3 separate regions of the Homo sapiens genome follow, and regions 2 and 3 are each linked to region 1. The links are contacts of gene promoters, found by promoter capture Hi-C in human tissues and cell types (Jung and others, 2019). All regions are on one chromosome and are shown on one strand. Each heading gives the region's core, a stretch centred on a gene start or on the middle of the fragment in contact. The rest is flanking DNA. Distances are from core to core; before and after follow the strand shown. Region 1 holds the start of UBXN7 (UBX domain protein 7). Region 2 holds the start of SENP5 (SUMO specific peptidase 5). Region 3 overlaps TFRC (transferrin receptor).

Region 1 (2,901 bases), core at 252-2,751:
GATCACTTGAGGTCAGTAGTTTGAGACTAGCCTGCTCAACATGGTGAAACCTCGTCTCTATTAAAAATACAAAAATTAGCCAGGCGTGGTGGCGTGTGCCTGTAATCCCAGCTACTTGGGAGGCTGAGGCAGGAGAATCGCTTGAACCCGGGAGGCGGAGCTTTCAGTAAACTGAGATTGCACCACTGCACTCCAGCCTGGGCGACAGAGCGAGACTCCCTGTCAAACAAAACAAAACAAAAAACTATACCCCTTGATTTGACATGGCTCTTTCTTAATTCTCCCCAATAGCATGTTTACTCTTAGGATGTGTCAATTCTTCAGACAGCTCATCCCATCTTTTATTGGGCCATTTTCCTATGAAGATGCAAAATATGTGGGTGGAGGTTGGAAGGTGGGAGGCTAAAACAAACGGAATCACTTGGAATCTCTTTTAACTTTATGGGCAAGGTGGGGGATTATTGGATTTGAGCGCACCCCACTCATGTAACTGTTTTGCAAAATACTTAAAATTATTCAAGGAACACACGAATATCTTTTTTTTTTTTTTTTTTTTGAGATGGATTCTTGATATATTTCCCAGTCTGGTCTCGAACTCCTTGCCTCAAGCGATTCTCCCACCTCGGCCTTCCAAAGTGCTGGGATTACAGTCATGAGCCACCGCGCCCGGCCAATAATGTTTGTTTAAAAATAAAAAGATAAATAAGAAACTCGAAGTAAGGTCCGCTTTGACCATCGTCCCGATCGTTCTCTTCTCTGGAGGTAACCGTTACCAGCGTTTTGAGCACACTTTTCCAGTCTCCTTTCTATATGTTTTCTTTCCTCTACTGCATATACAGAGTTTCTTTTTATACAAATGACGCCTCTTGGGGTCTCATTAAGACCCTAACGGGAGACGTGATGGCCAATTTATTTAAGGAAAGCAGACTAAACAATCGTTTATGAAAACCTACTGGGTGGCAACCCCGCGCTAAGTGCTTTCTTTGGCATGAAGGGTTCTGGTATTTCACTCGTCGCAATCGGTTAGCTAAGCCATTAGTTTAGAGGCTGGGGGGCGAGTACGGGGAGAGTCGCTTCAAAGCGAGGAGGTAGGGTTTGCATTTTGATGGGACCTGCAGGAAACCTAATAGAGTGCGGTACAACCGCAAAACAGAAAAATGCTGTCATCGGCAGTTGGCTCTGTCAATAAAGCTTGCGAAGCTGAAATGCGAAGAACTATCTGCCGAGACCGAAGCTTCCTTCGGAATCTAGGAATCGACACCGCGCCTGCGAGGCTAGCCTTGGAGCCCGGAGAGGAAGGCACCAGCAATGGCAAAAAGGATGCACTGAGCAGGCAGCAACCGAGCAGCCAACCCGAGAGCTGGGAGCGCGCGGGCCCGGTCGGAAAATGCGCCTGCGCAGACCGCTGGGGACGGGAGGGGCGGGGCTCGAGGGGCGGTCAATGCGCCTGCGCACACCGCACGGCGAAGTGGGGGAGGGCAGTCCGTGTGTGTCTGTGTTGTTGTTCGGCGGCGGCGGCGGCGGTAAGATGGCTGCCCACGGGGGCTCCGCGGCGTCCTCGGCGCTGAAGGGGTTAATTCAACAGTTCACCACCATTACCGGTAAGAGACGCGGTTACCGGAAGGTGGAGAGTGGGGTCCGGAGCGGGCAGCGGGTCTGCCCCGGGCTTCCCCTTACCTTCAGGCATTCCTCCTTCGGGCTTTACCCACAGCTGCCGTCCTCCCTCCTGAGGAAGAGGCGACGACGGCGTCGGGGTCTCCGGGTTCAGGCGGGAGACAGCCCCCCCCCGCTCCCGATACCCTCGTTCTCTGTCTCCTAGTAGCGTGGAGGGAGATCCCCCAACCCCCCGCCAGCCCAGACCTGGGAATGGGCCGAGTCCGTCCGCCCCCGCCGGCCCGGGGACCCGGGGGCGGGAGGAGTAGGGGGCCGCACCCGGGCCACCGCCCTCCTCCTCCTCCTTCATCATCTTCCCTTCTCTGTGCAGCCCTGCGGTGCGGTGCATCTCCTCACCTCCTTTTTTCCTTTCTTCCCCGGCCAGGTCATTCTGCCCCGGTCCCCGGCCTGCCCTTCCCCTTTCTGGGCCCCTCGGAGCCATCGCCGTGGCCCTGGCGGGTTCGGGCCCTCCCGCCTTCACGGCAAGGCCGGTGGGTTCGGCCGTGCCTTTACACTTCACGGGGGACAGGCCGCCAGAAGCGGGGGGTGCTGAGGAGGACCTCAGGGACTGAGGCTTTGAGGGAAGAATGAGGGGGAACCCCCAAGCTGAATAGGGGAGGCCTGGAAGAATCCAGGGTGGCGTTTCCCACCTCCCCATAATAAAATCATAAAGACGGAGACGATGGCGCCGGGGCCTCCTGCTGATAAGATAGGGATGGCGGCAGAAACTTCTTTGAGAGAAAATCTGTTTCTGGGTGTCGGTATCCCCGAAACCCTAGGCCTAGGTTCTCTCCCTTTGGACCCCTGCGAAGGACACACGCAGATCCTCTTACCGCCTGGAGGAAAGGCCCTAAAGCCATTCTATGAATTCTCTCTGTCTTGTTTCTCTCTGATGGTGCTGAACTTTTCTTGCATGAGTTATTAGAGGGCGGAGCAAATGATGAAGTTCTCTGTGGAGTGATTTGAGAGAAGAGTACTCCAATGTGCCTGAGTGTAATTTTGCCGTTCTAGTTTGTCGTTTTGGAAGGAGGTCAGAATGTTAGTTCCCTCTCAACGGATCTATACTTTATCTCGTAATTTGTTAGATGCGGAGAATGTTTCCACTGTTAATGTTCCTAGAGTTTAACGTGCAATATCTGGTTAAGTAAAATTTTATATTGTTTTAACTACTACAGGTTGTATACTAGTTACCGTTTTATATTAAAGCAAGTTTTATTTTTTTGCTTTGCAATGATAACGAGATATTTG
Region 2 (2,901 bases), core at 302-2,801, 440 kb before region 1:
CACTTTTGAGAGGCGGAAGCAGGTAGATCACTTGAGGTCAGGAGGTCGAGACCAGCCTGGCCAACATGGTGAAACCCCATGTCTACTAAAAATACAAAAATTAGCCGGGCGCGATGGCGGGCACCTGTAATCCCAGCTACTCTGGAGGCTGAGGCAGGAGAATCGCTTGAACCTGGGAGGAGGAGGTTGCAGTGAGCTGAAAAGATCGCGCCACTGCACTCCAGGCTGGGTGTCAGAGTGAGACCCTGTCCCCCCTCCAAAAAAAAATTGTGAGCCCAGGTGTAAATGAAGCCCCCCTCCCCAGCACCCTCCTCTACATACCAAGCTTTTCTCCTAGAAAAGATGCACTGGGAAAAAGCTATCTTGAGTAAAGATCAAAACTGATATAAGCCATCCCTCATATACCAATAATATGCCATCAATAAGCGTGAGACATGTGGATGGCTAGGAGAGAGTCTGGTTTCTTCCTGATGCTGCCCACCCAAAACAGAGACTGCAGTTAGGCTCTGACCACACGAGCGCCTGGCATCTCTAGGCAACCTTTTCCATACCAAGCTTAGTTATTCCGGGCAAAATGCAAAAAAAAAACATAAGTAGGAACCTATCATGAAGTGTCCTGGATATTCTTAAATTAAATTTAACCAGATTCTCAAAACATTTCATAACTAACGTCTGCTTTCTTCATTTAATTCTCCAAACATTATAATTTACATTGGTAGAAGAAAGTCCCACTTTACCTGCGGTGAAAAAGGTCGAAATGTCTATCTAGCATGAGATGAAAAACACTACCAGAGAGCAGGGTAGGATTTCACCTCGGCTATTCTCGCTCTAAGTCCAAAACTCCCACATCCTCTCCGCATCCCTCCACCCCGACAGAGTGGCCACAGGGCGTAGAGCGGAGGCTGATACCGCTCAGAGCAGACCGAAGGGAAAAGACGTCTCCCACCGCGCTCATGCCCAACCGGGCTCTCTGGAAAAGGGTCCCGGGGAGCGCGAGGAAAGAAACGAAGGCCGGAAGGAGGCAGAGCGGTCTAAGCAAATAAAAACCCCGGACTTCCACGGCGGCCGGAGCTGGAGGCCTGTGACAGCGGCTCCTCCTCTCAGAGCTTTCCCGGCTTCAGGAGGAGCTGGGGGGCGCCAGCTTCCCGGTGCCTGCGACGCACAGCCCGGCTGGAGCGAGAGCGCAGGGCAGCGGCCCCTCGGGACGAGCTCGCTCGCCTCCCCCGGAAAGGGAGGCTGTGGCCGAGACGGACGGCGGCCTCCAGCTCGGGCGGGGGAGGGCGGCTCGAGGCCTCCGGACCGGGCGCTGAGGTGGCGCACCGGCGCGGGAATGGCCCCAGCCAGCCCCGCCAGGCGATCGCTGAGTCCGTCACTCGTCTGCCCGCGTCCCCGCTTACCTGCTACCCTCGTTCCTGGCAGCTGCCCCGCCGCCGGCCCCGTCGCGGCAGCAGCCTGGACCGCGGACCCCGCCTTCGTCAGCTCCAAGGGAAGCCCCGCCAGCGACGAGGCGTCCGGCCTGTTCGCCGCGGCCACAGCCGCCGAGCTTCCTCTGAAGCGGCTGCCGCGACGCCGGCGCTGGCCTATCGCGTCACCTCCTCCGCGCCCTTCCGCCTGCGAGGCTGGGCCTGGCACCGCCCGCTTCCGGCGCTCCCGCCCCGCCTCCCGACCCGGGGCCGCCCCGCCCCCGCCCGTCACCGCGTCCTTAGCCCCGGCCTCCCTCAGAACGCGCTGGGATGGGAACCGCGTTCAGGAGCTGCTAAGCGCGTTTGAGACTTCAGCCCCTTCTCCAGCTTTTAACCTAAAAGGGCTAAATCAGACCGCAGCTAGTGTACACCCCTACCCTCCGCTGATCCCGTCACCCCTGCGCCGAAAGCAAAAGACCCATTCCAGCTCTGGACGTTGTGAGGCCTGGCCCAGGCGTCCGCTCTCTGGTTTTCCTATTGATCTTACCCCTGGTATTGTGATTGGCCTCTTTATCTATGTCTTACCCGCCCCAACTGTGAATGCTTTCCAAAATTATAAGCCGATGTCCTGACAGGCAAAAACATAATAATAGCAGATTTATGGCGGAAGATGAGTTCAGTTTTGAACATACTCGATCTGGAAGAATAAAGTGGAGGTGACTGCAATGGAAAACCAACAGTGCGTTGCTGAGAGCCTGTGTAGGCAGTAAGGATATGCATTGATGGTGGAGAAGATAAAAACAATACCGAAGCCAACTGCAGGATGGTTTGCTTTTAATTATCATCATGTGTCAGAAAATTCTAAACAATGTTAATGAAAAAGTACTCCTTTCCAAACAAAAGCTTTGTTTAGTCTTAGTTCTAAGCAATGGCTGCAATTACTGTTGATTTTTTTTTCTTTTTTCTTTTCTTTTTTTTTTTTTTCCAAACAGGGTCTTGCTGTCTCGCCCAAGCCGGAGTGCCGTGGCACACCCTAGGCTCGCTGTAACCTCTGCCTCCTGGGCTCAAGCGATCCTCCCACCTCATCTTCCAGGGTACCTGCGACCACAGGCTCCTGCACCACGCCCGGCTAATTTTTTATTACTATTACTATCATTATTTTTGTAGCGATGACATCTCCCTATGTTGCCCAGGCTGGTCTTGAACCCCTGAGCTCAAGTGATCCTCCCACCTGGGCCTCCCACAGTGCTCGAATTACAGGCGTGAACCACCACACCAGGCCCTCTCACTTCTTTTTAACAGTTTCTCTTTGTCAGTGATTTTTTTTTTTTTTTTAGAGGAGTGTCGCTCTGTCGCCCAGGCTGCAGTGCAGTGGCGCCATCTCGGCTCACTGCAAGCTCTGCCTCCCGGGTTCACGCCATTCTCCTGCCTCAGCCTCCTGAGTAGCTGGGACTACAGGCGTCCACCACCACGCTTGGCTAATTTTTTTTGTATTTCT
Region 3 (2,901 bases), core at 158-2,657, 380 kb after region 1:
AACAACAGATTTCGGGAATGCTGAGAAAACAGACAGATTTGTCATGAAGAAACTCAATGATCGTGTCATGAGAGTAAGTGAACTTTTGGGAAAGGAGGAACTAAAGTATGTGTAAAATAACCGATAAATCTTACACTTCTGCAAAGTGGACAAACTCTAGGAGTCTAGAATTCCTTTAAGAAGGGAGCATTAATGGTTTAGCTGTCATTTTCTGTTTCTGCTGTCTAATTCAGAACTTAGTCAAACCTAGTCTTTTTGGAAGAGACTTGCTGTAAAACTTCCATGTATGCTCCAATGGGGAAAAGAATCTGAACACATTTAAAGTTTTCCTTTGTAAAATGAATCAGTTTCCTTTAAAAAAATTTTTTTTTTTTTTGAGACAGAGTTTCACTGTTGTTGCCCAAGCTGGAGTGCAATGGCACGGTCTCGGCTCACTGCACCCTCCACCTCCCAGGTTCAAGTGATTCTCCTGCCTTAGCCTCCCGAGTTGCTGTGATTACAGGTGCCCAACACCACGCCCGGCTCATTTTTTGTATTTTTAGTAGAAACGGAGTTTCACCATGTTAGCCAGGCCGGTCTCGAACTCCCAACCTCAAGTGATCCACCTGCCTTGGCCTCCCAAAGTGCTGGTATTACAAGCGTGAGCCGCTGTGCCTAGCCTCCTTTAGAATTTTAACCTTAGAAGATTAGCATTAGCCTGGTTCTCAGCATTCTTTTTTCCTTACTCTGCTATAGAAAGTCTGATCAGCTGGCTGGGTACAGTGGCTCATGCCTGTAATTCCAGTACTTTGGGAGGCCGAGGCAAGCGGATCACCTGAGGTCAGGAGTTCAAGACCAGCCTGACCAACATGGAGAAACCCCATCTCTACTAAAAATACAAAAATTAGCTGGGCGTGGTGGTGCATGCCTGTAATTCCAGCTGCTCAGGAGGCTGAGGCAGGAGAATTACTTGAACCCGGGAGGTGGAGGTTGCAGTGAGCTGAGATCGCGCCATTGTACTCCAGCCTGGGCAACAAGAGCGAAACTCTGTCTCAACAACAACAAAAAGCCGGGCACGGTGGCTCACACCTGTAATCCCAGCATGAATTGCTTGAACTCGGGAGGTGGAGGGTACCAGTGAGCCGAGATAGCGCTGTTGCACTCCAGTCTGGGCAACAAGAGCGAAACTCTGTGTCAAAAAAAAAAAAAAAAAAAAAAAGTCTGATCGGCATTCTTAAATTTGGGACATTTTACATTTGAAGTGAACTGTTGTTTTACTACAAAAGTCACAGGGCTGTGTAAATTGCCTTGTGTGTTGTTTTCGTAGGTGGAGTATCACTTCCTCTCTCCCTACGTATCTCCAAAAGAGTCTCCTTTCCGACATGTCTTCTGGGGCTCCGGCTCTCACACGCTGCCAGCTTTACTGGAGAACTTGAAACTGCGTAAACAAAATAACGGTGCTTTTAATGAAACGCTGTTCAGAAACCAGTTGGCTCTAGCTACTTGGACTATTCAGGGAGCTGCAAATGCCCTCTCTGGTGACGTTTGGGACATTGACAATGAGTTTTAAATGTGATACCCATAGCTTCCATGAGAACAGCAGGGTAGTCTGGTTTCTAGACTTGTGCTGATCGTGCTAAATTTTCAGTAGGGCTACAAAACCTGATGTTAAAATTCCATCCCATCATCTTGGTACTACTAGATGTCTTTAGGCAGCAGCTTTTAATACAGGGTAGATAACCTGTACTTCAAGTTAAAGTGAATAACCACTTAAAAAATGTCCATGATGGAATATTCCCCTATCTCTAGAATTTTAAGTGCTTTGTAATGGGAACTGCCTCTTTCCTGTTGTTGTTAATGAAAATGTCAGAAACCAGTTATGTGAATGATCTCTCTGAATCCTAAGGGCTGGTCTCTGCTGAAGGTTGTAAGTGGTCGCTTACTTTGAGTGATCCTCCAACTTCATTTGATGCTAAATAGGAGATACCAGGTTGAAAGACCTTCTCCAAATGAGATCTAAGCCTTTCCATAAGGAATGTAGCTGGTTTCCTCATTCCTGAAAGAAACAGTTAACTTTCAGAAGAGATGGGCTTGTTTTCTTGCCAATGAGGTCTGAAATGGAGGTCCTTCTGCTGGATAAAATGAGGTTCAACTGTTGATTGCAGGAATAAGGCCTTAATATGTTAACCTCAGTGTCATTTATGAAAAGAGGGGACCAGAAGCCAAAGACTTAGTATATTTTCTTTTCCTCTGTCCCTTCCCCCATAAGCCTCCATTTAGTTCTTTGTTATTTTTGTTTCTTCCAAAGCACATTGAAAGAGAACCAGTTTCAGGTGTTTAGTTGCAGACTCAGTTTGTCAGACTTTAAAGAATAATATGCTGCCAAATTTTGGCCAAAGTGTTAATCTTAGGGGAGAGCTTTCTGTCCTTTTGGCACTGAGATATTTATTGTTTATTTATCAGTGACAGAGTTCACTATAAATGGTGTTTTTTTAATAGAATATAATTATCGGAAGCAGTGCCTTCCATAATTATGACAGTTATACTGTCGGTTTTTTTTAAATAAAAGCAGCATCTGCTAATAAAACCCAACAGATACTGGAAGTTTTGCATTTATGGTCAACACTTAAGGGTTTTAGAAAACAGCCGTCAGCCAAATGTAATTGAATAAAGTTGAAGCTAAGATTTAGAGATGAATTAAATTTAATTAGGGGTTGCTAAGAAGCGAGCACTGACCAGATAAGAATGCTGGTTTTCCTAAATGCAGTGAATTGTGACCAAGTTATAAATCAATGTCACTTAAAGGCTGTGGTAGTACTCCTGCAAAATTTTATAGCTCAGTTTATCCAAGGTGTAACTCTAATTCCCATTTTGCAAAATTTCCAGTACCTTTGTCACAATCCTAACACATTATCGGGAGCA

Evidence for each region. Contacts are between HindIII fragments. The study calls those that stand out against the background at their distance.
Region 2: a contact is called between the fragment with the promoter of SENP5 here and the fragment with the promoter of UBXN7 in region 1, in 1 of the 25 tissues and cell types used here (dorsolateral prefrontal cortex).
Region 3: a fragment that was not itself captured here is called in contact with the fragment with the promoter of UBXN7 in region 1 in 1 of the 25 tissues and cell types used here (small bowel).

The regions. Positions count from the first base shown.
Region 1 is chr3:196,431,027-196,433,927 of GRCh38, reverse strand. UBXN7 (UBX domain protein 7) reads left to right here and starts at 1,501. Exons shown (of 11, transcript NM_015562.2): 1 at 1,501-1,601. The coding sequence starts at 1,529. UBXN7-AS1 (UBXN7 antisense RNA 1) reads right to left here and starts at 2,543. Exons shown (of 2, transcript NR_046745.1): 1 at 2,487-2,543; 2 at 894-1,726. RefSeq lists enhancers at 1,184-1,263, 1,196-1,969, 2,344-2,393, 1,970-2,744 and silencers at 1,304-1,553, 1,574-1,633. The HindIII fragment of the contact is 10,299 bases long and covers 101-2,901 here.
Region 2 is chr3:196,866,570-196,869,470 of GRCh38, reverse strand. It overlaps SENP5 (SUMO specific peptidase 5), which reads right to left and starts at 1,551. Exons shown (of 10, transcript NM_152699.5): 1 at 1,398-1,551. RefSeq lists an enhancer at 42-543 and a silencer at 1,195-1,774. The HindIII fragment of the contact is 4,194 bases long and covers 1-2,901 here.
Region 3 is chr3:196,050,590-196,053,490 of GRCh38, reverse strand. It overlaps TFRC (transferrin receptor), which reads left to right. Exons shown (of 19, transcript NM_001128148.3): 18 at 1-73; 19 at 1,307-2,901. The coding sequence ends at 1,549. Among named protein-coding and RNA genes, the nearest start is that of TFRC, 30 kb to the left of the region's middle. The HindIII fragment of the contact is 8,502 bases long and covers 1-2,901 here.